Linked DNA regions of Homo sapiens: regions 2, 3 and 4 are each linked to region 1. The links are contacts of gene promoters, found by promoter capture Hi-C in human tissues and cell types (Jung and others, 2019). All regions are on one chromosome and are shown on one strand. The core of a region is centred on a gene start or on the middle of the fragment in contact, and the rest is flanking DNA. Distances in the headings are between cores, read along the strand shown. Region 1 holds the start of RPL13 (ribosomal protein L13). Region 2 overlaps ANKRD11 (ankyrin repeat domain containing 11). Region 3 holds the start of CDH15 (cadherin 15). Region 4 holds the start of ACSF3 (acyl-CoA synthetase family member 3).

What was found. Contacts are between HindIII fragments. The study calls those that stand out against the background at their distance.
Region 2: a fragment that was not itself captured here is called in contact with the fragment with the promoter of RPL13 in region 1 in 13 of the 25 tissues and cell types used here (IMR-90 fibroblasts, adrenal gland, dorsolateral prefrontal cortex and 10 more).
Region 3: a contact is called between the fragment with the promoter of CDH15 here and the fragment with the promoter of RPL13 in region 1, in 1 of the 25 tissues and cell types used here (liver).
Region 4: the fragment with the promoter of ACSF3 here is called in contact with the fragment with the promoter of RPL13 in region 1 in 1 of the 25 tissues and cell types used here (spleen).

The regions. Positions count from the first base shown.
Region 1 is chr16:89,556,600-89,561,931 of GRCh38, forward strand. RPL13 (ribosomal protein L13) reads left to right here and starts at 4,083. Exons shown (of 6, transcript NM_000977.4): 1 at 4,083-4,113; 2 at 4,341-4,464; 3 at 4,628-4,769; 4 at 4,979-5,152. The coding sequence starts at 4,361. SNORD68 (small nucleolar RNA, C/D box 68) reads left to right here and starts at 4,831; the gene lies at 4,831-4,902. It overlaps SPG7 (SPG7 matrix AAA peptidase subunit, paraplegin), which reads left to right. Exons shown (of 17, transcript NM_003119.4): 17 at 288-1,167. The coding sequence ends at 494. RefSeq lists silencers at 2,525-2,744, 4,286-4,555, 4,616-4,665 and an enhancer at 4,066-4,175. The HindIII fragment of the contact is 11,945 bases long and covers 1-5,332 here.
Region 2 is chr16:89,288,669-89,293,887 of GRCh38, forward strand. ANKRD11 (ankyrin repeat domain containing 11) reads right to left here. Exons shown (of 13, transcript NM_013275.6): 5 at 2,345-2,515; 6 at 1,957-2,160; 7 at 1-2. Among named protein-coding and RNA genes, the nearest start is that of ZNF778, 74 kb to the left of the region's middle. RefSeq lists enhancers at 2,495-3,341, 5,035-5,219. The HindIII fragment of the contact is 4,448 bases long and covers 1-3,474 here.
Region 3 is chr16:89,168,782-89,174,252 of GRCh38, forward strand. It overlaps CDH15 (cadherin 15), which reads left to right and starts at 2,967. Exons shown (of 14, transcript NM_004933.3): 1 at 2,967-3,092. The coding sequence starts at 3,051. LINC02138 (long intergenic non-protein coding RNA 2138) reads left to right here. Exons shown (of 3, transcript NR_046200.1): 3 at 1-366. RefSeq lists a silencer at 2,403-3,042. The HindIII fragment of the contact is 6,474 bases long and covers 884-5,471 here.
Region 4 is chr16:89,091,594-89,096,692 of GRCh38, forward strand. It overlaps ACSF3 (acyl-CoA synthetase family member 3), which reads left to right and starts at 2,259. Exons shown (of 11, transcript NM_001243279.3): 1 at 2,259-2,403. RefSeq lists a silencer at 2,023-2,432 and enhancers at 2,853-3,042, 4,262-4,431. The HindIII fragment of the contact is 24,302 bases long and covers 1-5,099 here.

The DNA.
Region 1 (5,332 bases), core at 2,833-5,332:
ACACGTCTTGTTTGGTGAAAGAAATTGCAGTTGCCAAAAATAAGCCAAGATTTTGAATAGAAGTAGAAAAATTAATGAGGCTGGCCGCCGGAAAATCATTTATGAGGTTGAGATGGGGGTGATTCTTCTTTCGGAGCTGCCTCCGTGCCTCCGCTTCCCTGGGAAAGTGGCCTGTCCTGGGTGTCCTGCACACAGACAGGCCCTCACGCCTCTTGCCACCTCCCCAGGACATAGAGATGCTCTGTCTGCCCTGGGGACTCACACACTGCTATGCCTGTTCTTTCTAGCTGGCAAACGCCCTTCTGGAAAAGGAAGTGATAAACTATGAGGACATTGAGGCTCTCATTGGCCCGCCGCCCCATGGGCCGAAGAAAATGATCGCACCGCAGAGGTGGATCGACGCCCAGAGGGAGAAACAGGACTTGGGCGAGGAGGAGACCGAAGAGACCCAGCAGCCTCCACTTGGAGGCGAAGAGCCGACTTGGCCCAAGTAGTTGGGAGGTGTTGGCTGCACGTGCGGGTGGTCCGGGAAGTGAGGGCTCACTCAGCCACCCTGAGTTGCTTTTCAGCTGAGGTTTGCACTTCCTCTCGCGGCCCTCAGTAGTCCCTGCACAGTGACTTCTGAGATCTGTTGATTGATGACCCTTTTCATGATTTTAAGTTTCTCTGCAGAAACTACTGACGGAGTCCTGTGTTTGTGAGTCGTTTCCCCTATGGGGAAGGTTATCAGTGCTTCCCGAGTGAGCATGGAACACTTCGAGTTCCCAGGGTTATAGACAGTCGTTCCCAGTGTGGCTGAGGCCACCCAGAGGCAGCAGAGCATTCAGACTCCAAACAGACCCCTGTTCATGCCGACGCTTGCACGACCGCCCCAGTTCCTGTGGCTCCCTCGGAATGCTAAGGGGATCGGACATGAAAGGACCCTGTGAGCCGATTGTCCTATCTCCAGCGGCCCTGTCATCCAGCTCACTCATCAATGGGGCCAGTCAGGCCCAGGCACTGGGCTCCGGAGGACTCACCACTGCCCCCTGCTGCCATGTGGACTGGTGCAAGTTGAGGACTTCTTGCTGGTCTAGTCACGCATGCAGTGTTGGGGATGCCTTGGTTTTTACTGCTCTGAGAATTGTTGAGATACTTTACTAATAAACTGTGTAGTTGGAAAATCTACATTTGCATTGTCTGGCCAGCTCTAATGCAGAGGAGCTGGTGGGCTTGCCCTGGATCACAGGGTCTTGTGGTTTCAGTTTATAATTTGAGTAATGCAGGGACTAAGTGAAAAACTCCTTCTGTAGGAATCTGGGGCCTGGACCCCGTAGGGATAGAAGACGACCCAGGACACCCTGGCCCTGAGTTCCGGGGCATGCGGCTCCCACTCCGGCCCCCTTGCTTCTGCCCTCCCTGTGGTGCAGTGACGTGAGTGGATTGTCCTCTTGTTGCTGCAACACTGAAACGCTGGCGGAGCAGTAAGGAGGCAGCCACAGGTGCAGTCACACACCCGAGGGTGGCATCTCTGAGAGATGCCTTGACCTTTGCCCCAGTTCTCCAAATCCAAAGACCAGCACATCGATGGGAGGGTTTTAGCTGGTGTAGCCAAGGGTAGTGTCCTCGGTAATTGTTTTTTTTTTGCTGTTGTGTTGGTTTTTGGCAGAGTCTTGCTCTGTCGCCCAGGCTAGAGTGCAGTGGCGCCATCTCGGCTCACTGCAGCCTCGATCTTCTGGGCTCAAGCAATCCTCCTGACTCAGCCTCCCAAGTAGCTGGGACCGCAGGCACGCACCATTATGCCCGACTAATTTTTGTACTTTTTGTAGAGACAGGGCTAGACTCGAATTTCTGAGTTCAAGTGATCCTCCTGCCTTGGCCTCCCAATGTGTTGGGATTACAGGTGTGAGCCACTGTGCCAAGCCTTTTGTGAAATTAATTTATTATTTTTTAATTATTATTTGTTTTTGGAGATGGAATCTTGCTCTGTAGTCCAGGCTGGAGTGCAGTGGCACGATCTTGGGTCAGTGCAACCTCCGCCTCCCGGGTTCACGCCATTCTCCTGCCTCAGCCTCCCAAGTAGGTGGGACCACAGGCGCCTGCCACCACGCCCGGCTAATTTTTTGTATTTTTAGTAGAGTCGGGGTTTCACCATGTTAGCCAGGATGGTCTCGATCTCCTGACCTCGTGATCTGCCTGCCTTGGGCTCCCAAAATGCTGGGATTACAGGTGTGAGCCAGCACGCCCAGCTCTTAAATTTTTCATTTTTGAGACGGAGGCTTAACTCTGTCACCCAGGCTGGAGTGCAGTGGTGCAGTCTCGACTCACTGTAACCTCTGCCTCCTGGGTTCAAGTGATTCCCCTGTCCTACTCTCTGGAGTAGCTAGGATTACAGGTGTACACAACCACACATGGCTAATTTTTGTATTTTTAGTAGAGGCGGGATTTTGCCATGTTGGCTAGGCCGGTCTCCAACTCCTGACCTCAGGTGATCCACCCGCCTCGGCCTCCCAAAGTGCTGGGATTTACAGGCATGAGCCACCGTGCCTGGCCTGTGAAATACTTTTTTTTCTTTTTGAGACTGAGTCTTGCTCTGTTGCCCAGGCTAGAGTGCAGTAATGTGATCTTGGCTCACTGCAACCTCTGCCTCCCCAGTTCAAGCAATTCTGGTGACTCAGCCTCCTAAGTAGCTAGGATTACAGGCATGCGCCACCACGCCCAGCTTTTTTGTATTTTTAGTAGAGACAGGGTTTCACCATCTTAGCCAGGGTGATCTCAAACTCTTGACCTCGGCTGATCCGCCCACCTCAGCCTCCCAAAGTGCTGGAACTGTGAAATTCTTAAAATGTGGATTACGTTGGCCAGGCACGGTGGCTCACGCCTGTAATCCCAGCACTTTGGGAGGCCCAGGCGGGCGGATCGCGAGGTCAGGAGATCGAGACCATCCTGGCTAACACAGTGAAACCCCGTCTGTACTAAAAATACAAAAAATCAGCTGGGCGTGATGGTGGGCGCCTGTAGTCCCAGCTACTTGGGAGGCAGAGGCAGGAGAATGGCGTGAACCCGGGAGGCAGAACTTGCAGTGAACAGAGATCGCACCACTGAACTCCAGCCTGGGCAACAGAGGGAGACTCCGTCTCAAAAAAAAAAAATAATAATAAGTTTTACCAGGAGGAAGCGTGGTGATTGGGTGAGGGTAGGGAAGAAAGAGGGTTATTGGGATTTAAAGGTTTCCAGGTAGCAGTAAGATGGATGGTGCCTTCACAGACTTATACTAGAGAAGAGATGGCTTTTTGTTGATGCTTTTCTTTGTGAAGGAAGGCAGTAGGCACAGCAGGTCAGAGTGTGACATTTTCAGTCGGGTACCCCTGACCTTAGAGAAGTCACCTAATCCTGGGCCAAGGGAAAGCGACAGAGGCCAACAGTAACTCCGTCTACTAAAATACCAAAAATTAGCAGGGTGTGGCGGCGGGCGCCTGTAATCCCAGCTACTCGGGAGGCTGAGGCAGAATTGCTTGAACCTGGGACGCGGAGGCTGCAGTGAGCCGAGATCGCGCCATTGCACTCCAGCCTGGGCGACGGAGCGAGACTCCGTCTCCAAAAAAAAAAAACAAAAAAAAAAACCACAAATGTTCTAAATGGATGGGAGGAGAATAAACGCTGGAACGACAAGGACGAAGGCCTTAGGTTGCGCAAACTCGGATGTCACTGAAGTTTTTCTGCCTTTGCGCTGCAAACGTGTCTCACAAATGTGAACAAACAGAATTCCTCGGGCGTCGCCCGTTCGCCGTCGGCCCAGATACCGGACTCGCGCGCGTTAGCCCGCAAGACAGGACTCGGCCGCGGCCCGCGCAGCGGCTGAAGCGCCGGGGCAGTAACGGCGGACGTCAAGCAAGTCCGGCCGTCGGTTACTCAGGGCCCAGGAATCACGGCCGCCCCGCCGCATTCTCAGCGGCAACATGTCTGCGACGGCGGCCCTAGGGCTGCCGGGAGAGCCGCGGCGACGTCAGTTCCTCCTTTCGGGGCTCTGATTGGTCAGAGCGCCCGGCGCTTCTGGTTGGCCGGCCCTGCTATCATCCCAGAGTGCATTGCGGGGCCGCTTCCTTTCCGCTCGGCTGTTTTCCTGCGCAGGAGGTGAGGGAGACTGGGTCCTGGCCTTTGGGCATCATCCAGCGCCATCGGCCTGGCGCTTCAGCCAACGCGGGAGTGGATGGGCCCCTTCTTCTTCGCAGACAGCGTTCGGCCGCTGCCCGGGCTCTAGGCGCGGCCGGACGGCCCAGTCTGGAGGGTTCGGGGCGGAGGCCCGGGGGGGTGCGCGCGCCCGGGGTCCGGCCTCTCACTCGCTCCCCTCTCGTCCGCAGCCGCAGGGCCGTAGGCAGCCATGGCGCCCAGCCGGAATGGCATGGTCTTGAAGCCCCACTTCCACAAGGACTGGCAGCGGCGCGTGGCCACGTGGTTCAACCAGCCGGCCCGTAAGATCCGCAGGTGAGCCCTGCGCTCGGGGCTGCCCCTGGGGCTCGTGCCCGCGGCTGCGCCTTGGCTTGCGGGTGGCCGATGCCAGGGCGGGGGGCGCTGTCTGCAACCGTCGCGGAGCGCTGGCCTGGCGGCCTTAGGCAAGGGTGACCGCCGCTGCGCTTCTCTCCACCAGACGTAAGGCCCGGCAAGCCAAGGCGCGCCGCATCGCCCCGCGCCCCGCGTCGGGTCCCATCCGGCCCATCGTGCGCTGCCCCACGGTTCGGTACCACACGAAGGTGCGCGCCGGCCGCGGCTTCAGCCTGGAGGAGCTCAGGGTGAGTACTGGCAGCGCTGCGGTGTCAGGAAGGCCCCGAAGTCCCCTCTGTTGGCCTCAGTCGCGTGATGACATTCTCCGGAATCGCTGTACGGCCTTGATGAAAGCACATTTGAACCCTTTTCCATCTGATTGCTGAGGCTTTTCATCCAGGCCTCGGGGCTGGAGAAAGCCCGGGCCTGTCTCCATCTCTCTCTGGTTCTGGGGCAGGTGGCCGGCATTCACAAGAAGGTGGCCCGGACCATCGGCATTTCTGTGGATCCGAGGAGGCGGAACAAGTCCACGGAGTCCCTGCAGGCCAACGTGCAGCGGCTGAAGGAGTACCGCTCCAAACTCATCCTCTTCCCCAGGAAGCCCTCGGCCCCCAAGAAGGGAGACAGTTCTGTGAGTACACGGCTCTCTGGCCGTCCTGGTGCGCGGGGACAGTGAGGCTTGGCTCCTTTATCAGTGACACCGGTCCCTGGGTCTTGCTGGGGTGAGAAGAACCAAAACATTGTGGGTGATGAGCTAAGCGGGACTGCTAAGGTTCACCTGTGCGTTTCCGCAGAGATAACCTTAATGGAC
Region 2 (5,219 bases), core at 1-2,500, 270 kb before region 1:
GCCTGGAAACAGACACTCAGGACGTACGTTATTTAATCCTCAGAACTTCCCTCCTGTCTCTGGAGGCAGCGCCCTGAGGATGTGCTACAGTGCGGGGACAAGCCAGGTGGGGAGCTGCCCTGTAGTGAGGGCTGCAGTTTAGGGAAGCAGGTGCTGGCCCAGAGAACCCCTAAATTCTCTTTACTGTGGCACCTCGTTAGCACGATCCATATCTAGCTTATTAACCCTACGGACTGACAACCTGCAGGGCTAATCTGCGGCAATCACCCTAAAAGGGTAGGAAATCAGTGAACACACAGTGTAGTAAACAGCAGCCTCATCCTCACCGATCTGGAGGCGTATGTGCCTTTGCAAAACACGGAGGGGAAACCTCCCGTGTCGGAAACGGAAACCAAGGCTGAGAGCCTCCTGAAGGCTGAAGAGCTGCTACAGCAGGAGCTCCAGGGGCGCCCAGGCTCGGGCTGCACGACGAAGGCCACCCCGGGCAGGCAGCTCCTGGCTGGGGAGCTTGGAGTCCACCATCGGACGGTGTGGCCGCACGCATCCGTGGAAACAGAGCTCGGCCCCACGGAAGCACACGGCACTGCTCTAGAGAAGTTTCTTTTAGAAAAATGCTTTAAAAAAAAAAGGTGCTAAATTAGGTTTGGGTCAGACAGCTATAAACCAGGGCAGTTGGAGAAATCTAGAAGGATTCTACACACACGATTTTGCTCATCTGTTCCCCTTACACTGTGGACAGACAGTCCTGGGATATGTGGACCACTCATGGTTTGATGGGGGTATTTTATGTAAAGAAAGGGAATATTAAACTCTAATCATGGAGCTCTTAAGCCCCTGGGCCGTATCAGGTCTGGGGAGGCTCGCTCAGTTCTCTCCGGGTCCCAGGCAAGCCCCAGGACCCAGCCCTGTGAAGTGAGGGAGTCCAGTCCAGGGTGTCGACCCAGCCGGCCTCCCGGCTCAGAGGTGCCCTCTGCTGGAGAATGCAGCCATGTGCTAGACACACCAGGGACAGGTCCCTCCAGGGGCCTGGAGTGAGGTTTATGGAACACAGCAGAGTAAAATTTAAAATTCCTCAGTTCTCTTACAGATAGGCCAGGCATGGGGGCTCACAGCTATAATCCCAGCACTTTGGGAAGCCAAGGCGTGAGGACTGCTTGAGGCCATGAGTTCAAACCAGCCTGGGCAACTTAGTAAGACCCCGTCTCTACAAAAAATAAAAAAATTAGCCAGGCATGGTGGCGTGCGCCTGCACCCGGAAGGCTGAGTTGGGAACATCGCTTGAGCCCAGGAGTTCAAAGCTTCAGTGAGTCGTGATCACGCCACTGCACTCCAGCCTGAGCAACAGAGCGAGACCCTATCTAAAAATAAAAATAACAATAAAACCCAGCAAACAAGTTTACTTTGAAATACTTTCCAAGAAACACTGATTTCTTCTCAGCAACAGGGAACCCCACTGGAGTGAGTGTGGCTGTGAACACCCCGAGCCCTGCAGAGCAGACGCGCACCCCACGAGGCCACAGCCCATCCAACCCGATGGGAGGCTCACGGCTCCAATGGGGGAGGCTCAGGGCTCCAGCGGGGGGTAGGCTCAGGGCTCCAATGGGGGTAGGCTCAGGGCTCCAGCCGGGGGAGGCTCAGGGCTCCAATGGGGGGAGGCTCAGGGCTCCAGCGGGGGAGGCTCAGGGCTCCAATGGGGGGAGGCTCAGGGCTCCAGCGGGGGAGGCTCAGGGCTCCAATTGGGGGAGGCTCAGGGCTCCAATGGGGGGAGGCTCAGGGCTCCAATGGGGTGAGGCTCAGGGCTCCAGCGGGGGAGGCTCAGGGCTCCAATGGGGGGAGGCTCAGGGCTCCAATGGGGGGAGGCTCAGGGCTCCAATGGGGGGAGGCTCAGGACTCCACTGGGGGAGGCTCAGGGCTCCAGTGGGGCTCTCTGGCCCTTGCCAGGCACAGGGTGCCCACCTGCGAAGTCCTTGACGTTGACGTCTGCCCCCTCGCTGATGAGCTCTTTGATGCGCCGGGCGTCCCCGCGGATGGCGGCTCGGTGCAGGCGGGTCTCTCCACGCTCGTTTCTCTTGTTCACTTTATCTTTGGTTTTTGAGGCAGAGTTGGGCGTTCCCTTCTGACACACTGTAGACTGGGAGGGGTGCTTTGGTGTTGTGTCCACTGCAGGCCAAGGAGGGGACAGATGGGCATTACTGTGGGGTGGTCCTGCTTTGTCCAATCTTCAAGAGCCCAGGCCACCATCACGAGGTCCCTTTGCACAGGGCTTGTCCTCAGCACAGCCATGAGGCTGCGACCAGGCAGAGCCCCTTCCCTGCGCCAGGGACCACCCACAGGCCGGGCTCACCTGGGCTGTTGGCAGACTCCTCGGCCGTCATCTGCATGAGAAGGGCCACCTGCTGGCGCTCGGAGAGGGGGTAGCCGGCTCGGATTCCAGACAGCCCCATGCCAAACAGCAGCCCGGCCTTCCGGGTGACAGGCTCCTTCTTAATCCTCTTCCGCTCAGGGCCCTGCTTCTCTGTGAGGCGGGCGAGGGAGAGAGGGAGGAGAGATTTCATGCCATGGTGTCCTCCAAAGCTAGGTCCTTACCTAATGTTACGGAGCCCCCTGCGTCCACCTGACAGCTGACAGAGCAGAAAGGAAGGTCTGTGTATGGGGAAAGCACAGCGGTGCTGGGAGCATTGGTGCCGCCCACCTCACCTCTCAGCAGTGACTGTGAGACCATTTAAACACCTCGTTACCAGCCCCTCAAGTCTGCTAAGCCTGGGCCTCCACCGAGCATCCACTCACTCCAGGCACCTCTCCTGGGCCTCCCCAGACCTCGTACCACACATGAATGCGGTGGGACAGCTTAGCACCGGTGACCTGGCTCACACAGGACAGGTCTCTGTTCAATACACGTGTCTGTAATTCAATTCCACCTTCCCCGTCCCTCCTCCAAACAGTGCAGATATAAAATGGCAGACACAGTTTAAAACACATCAGTAAATCAAGGCCAACTGGTCAGTACTGTACCTTTCTTCTTGCTTCTAGGAACCTCCATCTCATGCCATGGTGCTTCGAGGAGCGTACCAGCCTTGCAGCACCACAACAGGGACTGGGCTGGAGGCATCTGAAGGCATCAACACAGAGCACTAACAAGACACGGTGTGAGAGCTCGGCTGTTTCCACCTCAGCCTCCTCGTAACAAGCACACCCTGCACTCATCTGACCCGTTACAGAACACTCGGCTGGCGTCTAACGCAACTCACGTGCTGTGTCTTTTAAAAGAGGCAGGAGGCAGGGGCGGGGAAGAGAAGACCCCAAGCACCAAGAGTCGGGGGCACAGAAGATGCCTCCTCCTCTGCCTGACCAGTGCCCTCCTGTGGATGGAAATCAGGGGCCAGACACCTCTGAATCCTCCTCCAGCTGCCCTGCGGGTTCTGGGGTTTTCTAGGTCATGGGGTGAAACTGCAGAGGTGCAGCGCAGAGGCAAGGCTCTGCCAAGGCCTGACTCGGGGAAGAAGGGCCACCAGGAAGACGTGGGCCTCTGAAGCTCTCCTCTGAGGCACCTCCCTTCCCTTCCATTCAGCACTCCCAAGAAGCCTCTCTTCAGGACTTCTCCCTCGGCTGGTGTTTGATCCTACAGAGGTGGGAGACATCTCTAACAACGGACTAACTGGATCCCACACCTGCCCGGTCACTGGAACACAGAACGGTCTTAACTAGTCTCTCAGCTCAGCTCCCAGGGCCCGACTCTCTTGCTGTTCACCACCATGGTCCCCGTGAATGTGCCCGTCGATTTCCTAAGAGGACGCTGCCCACCCACTCTAGTTCTTTCCAAGGTATCTGAGGCTGATTTCTTAGGAATTCGGTCTGGGGCATGCTGAGAATGTGGATTCGTATGTCCTATGGGACAAGCCTGCAGGAAGGCACACACCTGGCCACATCGACCTGCGTCACACTCATGGGCAAAACCCCAAGTACTGCAGGCTGCCATCGCCACCACCAGCTAGTCTGTAAACAGTCCTCAACGCACAGATCTGAGAAAGCACTTGAGCTTTGGCCCCAGCCCCTCATAGAACCTGGCAAACACGGTGGTTGGGGAGGCAGCCTCGCCACCGGCCAATGAGCCCCAGCCTACAGCCATCATTGGCGTAGCCACACCTTAGCAGTGAGCTTGGGTCACAGGCGCTTGGCTGTGGGTCTCTGCGTGCGCCCCATGCTTTCCCTGCACCCTCCATGCTGCCCGGGGGCCGGCCCTCCCCAGGCTTGCTTCTCATAGCCACCTCTAAACAACAGAAGCAGGCCTGCGGCTGCCTCCCTCTAGGAAAGAGGCGACGAAGCTGCTGGAGAAACCCCAGCTCCCCCACCGATAGCCCTCAAGTCCTCCTCTCTCCAGGAGGGGCCCACACTCACCGAGCAGCTGGTCTGCCCACAGTCGCCTGGAGAAGCAGCTGAGAACCTCTGCAGGGCCCTGATCCCCAAGACCTAGCCACGCACATTCAGAGGCCTGCTCCCTCCGTCACCCAGAGCAGGGGGGTTAATGTTTTGGAGACACGAAGCCCCCTGAGAACACGAGGAAAGCAGAATCCCCGAGATACACAGACTTTGCAAAGCTGCACACAGCACAGGAGACTCCTGGGAGCAGACGGCATCTCCTTATTCCATTGACCATCAGAAGTGAAAAGCGAGTGGGCCCCACTTCTGTGCTGCATGTGGCCACTAGGGGTGGACACAGGGAGGAGCTGGGGCAGAGTTGGGGTTGCGGAGGGAGGAGCTGGGGCAGAGTTGGGGTTGCGGAGGGAGGAGCTGGGGCAGAGTTGTGGCTGCGGAGGGAGGAGCTGGGGCAGAGTTGGGGCTGCAGAGCGAGGAGGCGGGGTGGTGTTGGGGCTGCGGAGGGAGGAGCTGGGGCGGTATTGGGGCTGCGGAGGGAGGAGCTGGGGCAGAGTTGGGGCTGCGGAGGGAGGAGCTGGGGCGGTGTTGGGGCTGCGGAGGGGAGGAGGCGGGGTGGTATTGGGGCTGCAGAGGGAGGAGCTGGGGCAGAGTTGGGGCTGCGGAGGGAGGAGCTGGGGCAGAGGTGGGGCTGCGGAGGGAGGAGCTGGGGCGGTGTTGGGAGGAGCTGGGGCGGTGTTGGGGCTGCAGTATGTTTACATCCCGAAGTGCAGGCGTTGCCATGCTCTTAAGTTATCAAAGGACCCTAGGAGGCGTGTGTCAGAGGAACAGGCAGAGGCAAAGGCGTT
Region 3 (5,471 bases), core at 1,717-4,216, 390 kb before region 1:
AGGCACCCCAGCCTCAGGTCAGGTCTGGAATGGACACAGCCCCCAGACCAAGACCAGGGCCTCCTCACCCCGGGGTCCCCTCCCTTGGTGTCGGGTGTCACCCAAACTCCCTGGACGTCACCCTTCTGCCCTCCACGCCCCACACCCTGGGTAGGAGCCGCCTTCACAGCTGCTAACCCCTGCCCTCCAGCCCCCACTGCCTCTTCGGTAACGGGGCTGTGACTGGCCTAAGCCCTGGGCCTCCACAGGGCCCCTGTCCAGCCCACCTTGCTCAACCGCAGCGTTCCGCATCACGCCTGCCCCTTAGTGGTTGGGGTGTGCATGTATATTTATACACTGTAATTACATAAATACAATTTAATAATCAAGGGTCAAGTGCCGTTACTGCACTGTGCAATTACAGAATCACTCCAGAGCAGACACCATGGCATCTCAGCTGAAAACCGGCACCCGCCTGCATCTATCGTGAGAAAGTTGGAAATTCCTTAGCCCAGCCTCGACCACTGCCTGCGGTGTTGGGAGGAGTGGCCAAGGGCTGGGGGTGGGGGGACCTCTGGGACATCCAAGACTGCAAGGCTCCTGGGGGGTCCGGGACCCTGTTTGTTGTCCCCCCGTTCCTCATACTGGGGAGAGGAAATAGGATGGGAACTGAGGCTGTGGACCAGGGAGCCCCCTCTACATCTTGGCCGGCCCACCCCCACCTCATGCCCATGAGGTGCGTCCCCCGAGGTGGAGAGTTGAGGTGGGCAAGGCAGAGGGCAGGAGTGATGGGGGTGAGTCCCAAAGGCTCAGGACTGCAGACTCTGGAAAAAGGAGGAGAAGGCCCAGAGTGGGGTCCTAGCTGGAGGCTTGGGGTGCTGAGGGAGGGTCCGGCGTCTCCAGGTCCACCAGGAAAGGGAAGGGCTCTTCTAGGGCTGATGGTCCTGCAGCCGAAAATGTACCCCTGCCCCCACTGCACAGGACCTCCAGACTCAGGGTACCCAGCCCTTCCCTGCCACCTACCTCTGACACAAGGAGAAACTGAGGCACGGGGGAGAACCTCCAGCCCAAGGCTCCGAGCTGGGACTGGACCCAGGCTCCTGCCTCCTGACCTTCCTGCTGCCCTGGGAGCATGTGGAGCGGGGTCCCTCGCGGGGGCACCTGCCCCTGGGGGATAGCCCGCCAGCCAGGGAGCACACCCTCCCGCAGTGGTTAAGCCGGCTGCTTCCCTGGCCCCGCCCTGCATTTGGGGCTCACCCAGGACCTGGCCCAGCTTAGCCTTTCCCTTAGAGACCCCCACATCCCATGGAGGAGGGATTTGGCCTCCGTTTCTCCCCGAGGTGGGTGGGAGGCAGGTGGCTGAAGCGAGGTGGGTGCAGGGTGGAAGCGGAGAGGAGCTGGGGTTGGCAGACCGCAGCCTCCCCAGACCTCTTTCTGGGGGGAGGGCGAGCACTTCTACCTCACCCCTGCACTAGTCCCGTGAGGATGAAAACCAAAAGCACTCAGAGGGCTTCTCCACCCCTATTTTGAGGTCACTGACCACAGAGGCAGGATGGTGGTCCCCAACAGGCTACACCCCAGCCCCAGAGGCCTCCCAGTCTGGAGATGGACTCCCTGCCCTCTCTCATCTTGGAGCAGTGAGCGCTAGGGACAGTCCTGGCCTGAGCCTCCCGGGCAGCCTGGCCTCCTTTCAAGCAGGCCAAGTGCACAGATGCTGCCTGCACCTGCACAGCCACCCGCCGTCGACAGGAGAGCAGAGGTACCGGGTCTGCTCCCATCACAGAGAGGAACGGGCTCCCCGGCCCGGCCCTGGGCTGGTCGGCAACCCCCACTCCCCACCCTGCCTGCTCAAAAGAAAGGATCCTCCTGCCTCCAGCCCCCTCCACCCCCTCTCCAGGACCTTCCTGACCGTGCGCTGGGCCTGTGCAGGTGTTGAGCCACACCCACACCATCCCAGGGGGCGGGGTCTCGAAGGGGAGAACAGGTGCCACAGTCAACAGGAGGGAGGGCTTCTGGCCGAGGTGGCAAGGAGGCTCCAGGAGGCGGCAGCGTTGACCTTGGGTGTTGAGGGATGATGAGAAGGAGTTCTGTAGGAAGGAAGGTGCTCCAGGCAGGGGGCCTCGGGGAACAAGGGGATGCTGGAGGAGGTGCGTGGACTGGGGGAATTGGGGGTGTCCTACGAGCCACGCTGGTATCAGAGGCGTGTGAACCAGAGCAGTTCCATACTGAATAAGAGCTGGGCAAAATGAGGTCGCGAGGAGGTGCGTGGAAGGCGGGCCTAGCGTTCAGTGGGATGCGGGGAGGCGCAGGAGACGCAGCCAGAGAGGCGAGGGGCCCAAGGAAGTGCTCAAGAGGTGTCCCCCGGCAGGGACTACAATGCAGATTCCCTGGAGCAGGGGCGAGCCGGGCCCAAGGAGCAGGAAATGAAGAAGCCAGGAATCCCAGCTGGTCCCTGACCCGGACGCACCCACCCTGCCTTCCCCACAGCCTGGCCTCTGGCTCTGCTCCCAACGCAGCAAGCCGGGGTATCTCCGACCTAGCCCTGGCCCTGCCCGCCGGAACCCCGCAAAAGCTATCACTCAGCCCTCGGCCCCGCCCCGGCCCCACCCCGGCCCCACCCCGCACTCTCACAAGGTGTCACTCAGCCCTCGGCCCCGCCCCGCCCGCCCCATCCTCCTCTGGCTCCGCCCCACCAGCCTCGTGCGGTCACCGCCCCGCCGGCGCACCTGCGCTGTCACTCAGCCCTCGGCCCCGGCCCCGCCCCGCCTGCCCCACTCGCACACGGGCTATCACTCAGCCTGCGCCCCGCCCTAGCTCGCCAGAGGCTCCGCCCCACCCGCCTGCCAACACGCTGTCACTCAGCCTTAGCCCTGCCCAGGCCGGCCCTCGGCCCGTCAGAGGCCTCCTTCGTGCTGTCACTCAGCCCTTGCCCCGCCCCCTCCCCGCCCCCCTCACACGTGCTGTCTCTGTCTCTGGCCCTGGCCCGCCCCGCGCACTTGCGCTGTCACTCAGCCTGGACGCGCTTCTTCGGGTCGCGGGTGCACTCCGGCCCGGCTCCCGCCTCGGCCCCGATGGACGCCGCGTTCCTCCTCGTCCTCGGGCTGTTGGCCCAGGTAAGGCATCGGCACCTGCGGGGGTCCCCGCTGCCTCCCTCGACGCTGCGGGACAGTGTCTTCAACTGCAGCCGCACAGGTCTCCCCCAGAACCACTGGCCCTGGTCGCCTTTGGGGGCCTGTGAGCGGAGTGGCTCCGGGTGGGTCCCTGGGCTGGGGGCAGCACCCCAGGGGTTGTGGGGAGTGAGTGTAACCAAACACTCCATCTGGTGGAATCACCCCCAGGACTGCAGAGTGCTGCTGGGGTCAGGGACCCCAGGCAGGGGCCACCCAGGTAGCCGTGCCCTCTCTTTGGAGGAACCGCTGCCGGGGTCTGGGGGTTGCCAGTCTTGAGTGGAGCAGAGAGAGGGGGGAGCGGCAGGAGTGCCCCTCTCTGGGGGGCTGGGGGCCAGGTTTCTATAGGGACTCCCTGCGGTGGGCACAGGACCCCTGGCTAGTCTTGGGTTTTGTCCAAACCCCCCACCCCAAGTTCCTGGCCAGCAGGGGTGGCTGCAGGCCCTGCCCCCAGGAACTCACCCTCACGGCTACTTCTCGATTGGGAGGGCCCAGCCCGAGCCAGGTCGCAACACACGGCCTTGCAGAGTGGCGTGTGGCAGCCCTGGGGGCTCTGTTCCTGGGCTTCACCTGGGACCCTGCCGCAGCTGCCTGGGGTGATCAGGCCTGGGGGCCCAGCCCCCAGAGGCTGCTGGACTCTGCCCCTAAAAATCTTGTCTGGACTGCTGGCACCGTGGTCTCTCCAACGTGGGAGCAAGCCAGAGTGGAAGGAAGCCCAGGCCTCAGCCCCCCACACCCGACATGGGTACTGCCTAGCTGGAGCCACGTCTCCTCACACCCTAGGGGGACCTAGACATGGAGGATGTGGCCTCAGTGGCTTCAGCCCCCAGGGACTGGGCTGGGCTGGGGCATGGCCGGCTGTGGTTGGGACGTCACTGGGTACAAGAGGGCAGCCTCTCTCTGGCCAATTCGAGAGAGAATGCACATAAAGGGCTTAGCGGTGCTCACAGTATTCATTGCTCTTGTGGTCCTGGGGTGGTCAGGGAGTGCTGGACACAGTGAGTAAGGGAAGCCACTCCTTTCCCAGCCCCCACTGAAGGGGCTTCCTGAGTCCCCTCATTCCCACAGGCCTCCCAGCTCCAGCTGGCTCCAATTTCAGCCCCTGGCAGCTGACCAGGCGCCTGGCCAGCCAGACCCTCCAGCAGCTGCCCCTGAGGGCACCACGGCTCCTGCCACCCCCGACTCCCCCATCTGGAGACAGTGGTGGGGGGAGACAGTGGCTCAGCATGCGTGCTCACCCCCCGGCCCTCCACCCCTCAGCCCTCTGCCGGGGAGCGCAGGCTGGGGGGCTCCATGCCTCCAGGGCCCTTCCCCACCTGCTCTGGGGACAGGGTTTCTTCCCTGGCACCCCAACCCAGGGCATGGTGGTGGGGAGGCTGGCGCCTGTGAAAACATTCCTCCAGACCTCTTCCTTTGGATTTGGGAGTGTCTGCCTTTCAAAAGGCCCCAGGGGGCTCTGTGGCAGGTGGGGAGGCAGGCAGGACCTCTCCCTCCTCAGAAGCCTTCCCTCTCACTGTCCCTTCTTTTCTCGCCCAGGGCTGGGGGACAATAACCCCCTCCCCCGACAGCTGGAGGCTGGGGGAGGTGGTGGAGGTGGGGGCCAGATGGCAAGGGGACTATCGCCAAGGCTCAAATTCACTCCACTGTGAGGCAAAATATGTCAGTGTCAGGACCCTGCCTGCCCCTCCCCCAGCAGCTCAGCTTTCAGGACTGTGAGCTCTCCTGGGCAGCCTTGGGGTCCTGGGCCGCCTCCTGGTGAGCCCCCAGGCAGGCAGCGTGGGCCCATCAGGGCCTTCTACAAGTGAGGGGTTGCTCCCCTGCTCGGGCCACCTCTGATTGCTGAGCTCACTCAGCCCCACCCGGAGGGTGTCTTCAGAACTGGCCCCTCTCAGCCCTGCTGCACCTACACCATCCCTAGTTGCTGGTTCTACACCTGGGACCCCACCCCAGCTGGGAGGCGGCTGAGGTCTGGGGCAGCACACTTGACTCACAGAGAACCCCAGCCTGCTGGGAAGGTCCCCACTTCTGCATCTGGGTTTTGGGAGCCCCTTGGTCTCTGGGAGACAGTCAGCAGCACCCTGGGGGCCAGGCAGGGGCTCTTAGCTCGGGTGACTGTGACCAAGGCCAAGAAGGGAAGTGGCTCCCAGGCCACTGTTCTTCCCACAGTGGAAGGACAGCCCCAGACACCGTGCTTTGGAGGGGACAGCTGCCTCCATGCCTCTTCTTCCACATCCCTTCTCTGAAGCCCGCAGCAGCTAGAGAGGGTGGGGCCCAGGGAAGATGCTCCAGCCGCTCTGGGCCAGGCCAACAGCTGGGGCCATTCCT
Region 4 (5,099 bases), core at 1,009-3,508, 470 kb before region 1:
TCTCTTGGATGTCCCAGTGAGATGCCAGGTGGGCACTTAGGACCCTCCCTGTCCACATGTTCTAAACTACATTGACGTCGTCTGCCTGGTTGGTGCGGCCACTTTCACTCCCTGCGCTGGATGTTCTGCAGCCCTTCGTCTGCTAATGTCCACGAGTTTACCTGACAGCTGACTTCTCTCTGTTTTCTCTGCCCTCCCTTCCTGAAACTACCGTATTTAGCATATTGGATGCCTGCCTGAGCCCACTGATTTTTTTATCTTTCCTCTCCTGTTTTTCATCTCTCGGTCTTTCTGTTCTATTTCTAGGAGACGTCCTTTAGCCCTTCCCTTAGGGTTTTTACTCAGGCTGTTGTATTCTGACCCCTCCAGCCCCCCTTTATGTTACTGGAACGCTCTTTCTCGGGGCATCTCGCTCTGGACTCATGGGGGCTGTCGCTTCCCTTGTCTCCCTGAGGGTATTAACAGGGGGTGGTTTTGGGGGTCTCTTCACTCTGCACAGCCTGGCTGCCTGCAGTTGTTCTGCTGGTTGTTTCAGCCCACGTCTCTCTGGCTAGAGGCTGTCCTCCAATGTCTGCTAATCCCTGACTGCTCCTGCTTCCCACCTGCCACTATGATGCTGACCAGAGCCGAGGCACAGATGGGACCCCTGCTCATAGGATGACTGGGCCATTTCTCGGAGACTGCACCCTCCCCCCACTGCCACCCTCACAGAGCCATGGCCAAGGACCACGGGAGCTGTCACCCTGTCCCAAGTCCTGTCTCTAGGTGGGTGACGCAGCCTGAGCTCTTCAACTTCCCAGGGATAGAAATTTGCGCACACACGTCCTGGGGCTGAATCCTGATGTTAGACGCCCTCCTTACTCTTCCTACTGCCCTCGTCGGAAACACCATTCAGCCTGCTGAGTCCTGGAAGCAGACAGAATTCTGACACCAGATCAAGCCTGTCCCAGTGGCAGAGGGTTGGACTTGCTTTTTCTGCATGATACCTAGCAGGGTGGCAACCAGAGGCACTAGAAGTTTGGGTTTGTTCTCCCACGCTCTGTGTTACAAACTTCCCCCAGATCCAGCTCCTTCCTCCCAGGAAAACCATCCTCGGGCTCCTGAAGTGCCCTTTCCTGAGCTTTCCAAGGACACAACTGCTGCCCCAGCAATCATCACAAGAGAGGAAGATGGGCATGGAAAATAATACACTTACAAAAAAACTGTGCAAGGTTCTGCAGATAATTTTTTTTTTTTTTTGAGACAGTCTCACTCTGCTGCCCAGGCTGGAGTGCAGTGGCGCAATCTCAGCTCACTGCAGTCGCCACCTCCCAGGCTCAAGAGATTCTCCTGCCTCAGCCTCCCGAGTAACTGGGATTACAGGCACCTGCCACCACTCCCGGCTAATTTTTGTATTTTTAGGAGAGACAGGGTTTCACCATGTTGGTCAGGCTGGTCTTGAACTCCTGACCTCGTGATCTGCCTACCTCGGCCTCCCAAAGTGCTGGGATTACAGGCGTGAGCCATCACACCAGGACGGTTCTGCAGATAATTTGTACTACTGTTTGCCAGTACATGTCTTTGTGTTATTAGTATTCATTTTAGGGGAAAAACCCTCAAATTTCAGCCAACTGGACTTTGTGTTTGGCTTTAAATGTTTTCCGCCACTGTCCATCCAACAGTCTCGCTTCATATTCGTATCCTGGTTCCCAAGTCCCTTCGAGGAGAGATTCTCAAATGCGGTCCGTTTAAAATCACCCAAGAAATACAAAAATTAGACAGGCATGATGGCGGGCGCCTGTAGTCCCAGCTAATTGGGAGGTTGAGGCAGGAGAATCACTTGAACCCGGGAGGCGGAGGTTGCGGTGAGCCGAGATCACACCACTGCACTCTAGTCTGGGCGACAGAGCGAGACTCCATCTCAAAATAATAATAATAATAAGAAAAAGTAACAACAATAATAATAATAATAAAATCACCCAGGAGCTCAGCGTGCAGACCCCCAGCCGCAAAGCCCAGAGAGCCCCTTTTGGGAGGACGGGGCGAGGCCCAGCAATCCGCGTTGGGAGTGGTCCCGCGCGCCGTTCTGATCTGGGCAGCCCTGGGCTAGCGGAGACCACGGCGCCTTGCCTCGGCCACGGCTCACGAGACGCCCGCGGCCCCGACCCCGCCACGACGGGACGGGCGGGACAGGGGAACACGCGCGCCCGGAACCCGCCGCCACGGCGCCGCGCCGGGGGGACGCGCTTGGGCGACGGACGCGCCGCGCCGGGGAAGCTGTTGGGCGCCGGAACTGGTCCGGCCCGACTCACGACCCCGCGGGACCCGGCCGGAACCCGGCCCGACCCCGGCGCGCGCGCGGCGGAGGACGAGGAAGAGTTGTGGCGAGGCAGATCCTGCCCCGTGGCCGCGGCCGTCTCGTAGGTGCGGGCGGCGGGGCCCACGGGACCGCGGCGGGGTCGGCCGGGCGCAGAGCTCTCGGGGGCGCGGGCTCCGGCGCCCGCCCCTGGGTCGCAGCTGGGCTTGAGCCGTGGCCCGTGGCGCGGTCGCTTCCCCGCGAGCCGCCTGGGGCCGGGCGTCGGCCTTCCCGGGACGCCGAGCCTCTCGTGTCCGGTGGGGAGCGGGGCCCCCGCGCGGGGTGCGGGGAGAGAAGCTGTGCGGACGCCGGGCCCGGTGATACCGTCGAGCCGGCGGGGTCCGTGTTCAGGCATCCTCAGAACGAATCGTCTTTGGTTGTGTTTGGAATAAATTCACTTCCATTTCTCATTGGGCTTCAGAAGTCACCCTTGAAGTACTCCCCGTTTTAGTTGTTTGCTGCGTGCACCTTGCTGGGCGCGTGGGGCACAGGTTCACAGCCGGCCTAGCCCCTGAGGGCATGTAGATCTATGAGCAAGCAATGGAGACGTGCGGCCGGCCGTGAAGTATTTGGAAGGTACTGCAGGCAGCCCATTCCCTGGAGAGAGGGAAGGTTTAAAGGGGTGAGGCCCGGTGCAGTCAGGAGTTGATGTTGCTGTCCTGAGTCTAAATTCCACCAGGCAGGCCAGGTGCAGTGGCTCATGCCTGTAATCCCAGCGCTTTGGGCAGCAGAGGCAGGAGGATCACTTGTGGCCAGGAGTTCAAAGCCAGCCTGGGCAACATGGTGAGACCCCTATCTCTACAAAAAAATGTAAAAATTAGCTGGGTGTGGTGGCGTACACCTGCACTTCCAGCTACTGGTTAGGCTGAGGCACGAGGATTTCTTGAGCCCAGGAATCGGAGGCTGCAGTGAGCCATGACAGCACCATTGCACTCCAGCCTAGGTGGCAGAGCAAGACACTGTCTCAATAAATAATAAAACTGAAAAAGAAGAGGTGATATTTGAACTGGGCTTGGAAGAATGATTAGGAATTTGCTAGAAAGGGAACACGTTTAGAGATAGGAACACGAATTGTGTCTGGGGCATAGTTGTTGCTTTCCCATCCTGGGAGGACAGACATTCGTGTTAGGGCCCAAGGCTGAGACCTTGTTGAGGAGGGGGTTCACATGGTGGACCCAGGAGCACGGGTGTTACTACCGGTGGACCCTGGGGACCCTGCGAGCTTTGTAGCGTGAAGCCTGGCTCAGGCTGGTGTCCTCTCCGCAGGTGTTGGAGGACATAAGATGAGGCTTCCCTTGCTCTTGCTCCTTTGGCTCTGAACCATCTCCTCAAGGCAGACAGAAATGGCGGATTAAACTGTGGGCTTGGGATAGTTGTAAGTGTCACCTTTCCAGATGGCATTTTTAAAATAGTATTTTTCTTCCTAAAATGGATATGGGTTTCAAGTGTATTTTTCCTTTTTGGTTTTTTTTATTTGAATGTACTGCTCATGAATGCAATGTGAATGTCTGTTACTTAAAAATGTAATTTTGAAAATAACCCTCCAAACCACAGGTGTGATGCTGAAACGCATCCTGCCCCGCAGGCCGAGCACAGCCCTCCTCTGCCCCACGCTCTCATCGGGGCAGCCGACAGGAGGAAGTGCCGGCATCCACTTCAAACACAAGGTCTGGGGGGGCGGGGGTGTCAGGTGTGGTGGTGAACAGGTCAGGTGTCGTTTTATTCATGTTGAAAGCAGCCCTTCATTTGAATGCGAGTGTCATTCTCATCTAGTAATTTTTGTTGCGAGGCTCCATGGGGAGCACCCTGCTGAGCACGGCGCGGCCGTTTGTCTTCTGCCTGGCCTGTGCCGGGCCATTCGTACATTCTCACGTGAAGCCTGTGAGGCAGGTCTTGTTACTGTGCCATCTTAGCGGTGGGAAGTGAAGGGCTAGGCCAGTGAGGAAATGAGGACAAAGGCAGCAGCCGTTCAAGTCGAAGCCTGTGGTGACTAACTCTGCCATTAACCAGCACTCCAGTTAGGAGGGAAAAGATGCATCCCGCTGCGCTGCATGTGTGTTCCCGAGAAGCCCCAGTGCCTTAGTGGTCTGATCTCAGAACCTGATGGCTAGAACACCGAGAGGTCCTGCCTCCCTCCCCGAGGGCTGGAGAGCCACTGTTTTCAGTGGTTCCAGTACGCCTTCACCAAGGAGGCTGTCCTGGCTCAGGCACCTTTCTCAGCTTCTGACTAGAGTCCTTGCCCAGCCACGTGGTGACGCCGCTGACCTCGGGTTATCAGGGTGCTGCGTAGCAGGGGTATGAAGCTGGCTGAGGGTGGAAGCCCCTGACTGAACTGCATTTGTCTGGTGGGCAGTGTCCCTCCACACTGTGCTCCTGGTGGTGATGGGGAGCCCCACGGTAGAAGGGGTCCCAGTGGTTGAAAGGTGAGGTTCTCTCTGAGGAAGCTGGGGTGCCTCTGGACCGGGAGGTGTGCAGGAAGACCGCGCACAGCCATCTGCCCTGAGTAGGCTCTGTCTGCGTGTTCGAGGCAGGGCTCTGATCCGATGACCGTGAAGATTCAACCTCTGTGCTGAAGAGAACTGATGACTGGGCACTTCATTGTCCCAAGCCTGAGGGACTGAAAAGCTGGTTTGATGGGGCTGGTTCCGTTTTCCACATGCTTGGTGGGAGAATAAATCAGCACCTCGTTGGAGGGGACTTTGTCAGTATTTCTCAAAATTAAAGATGACCCAGCAATGTGACTTCCCGGCATCTGTGCCCTAGA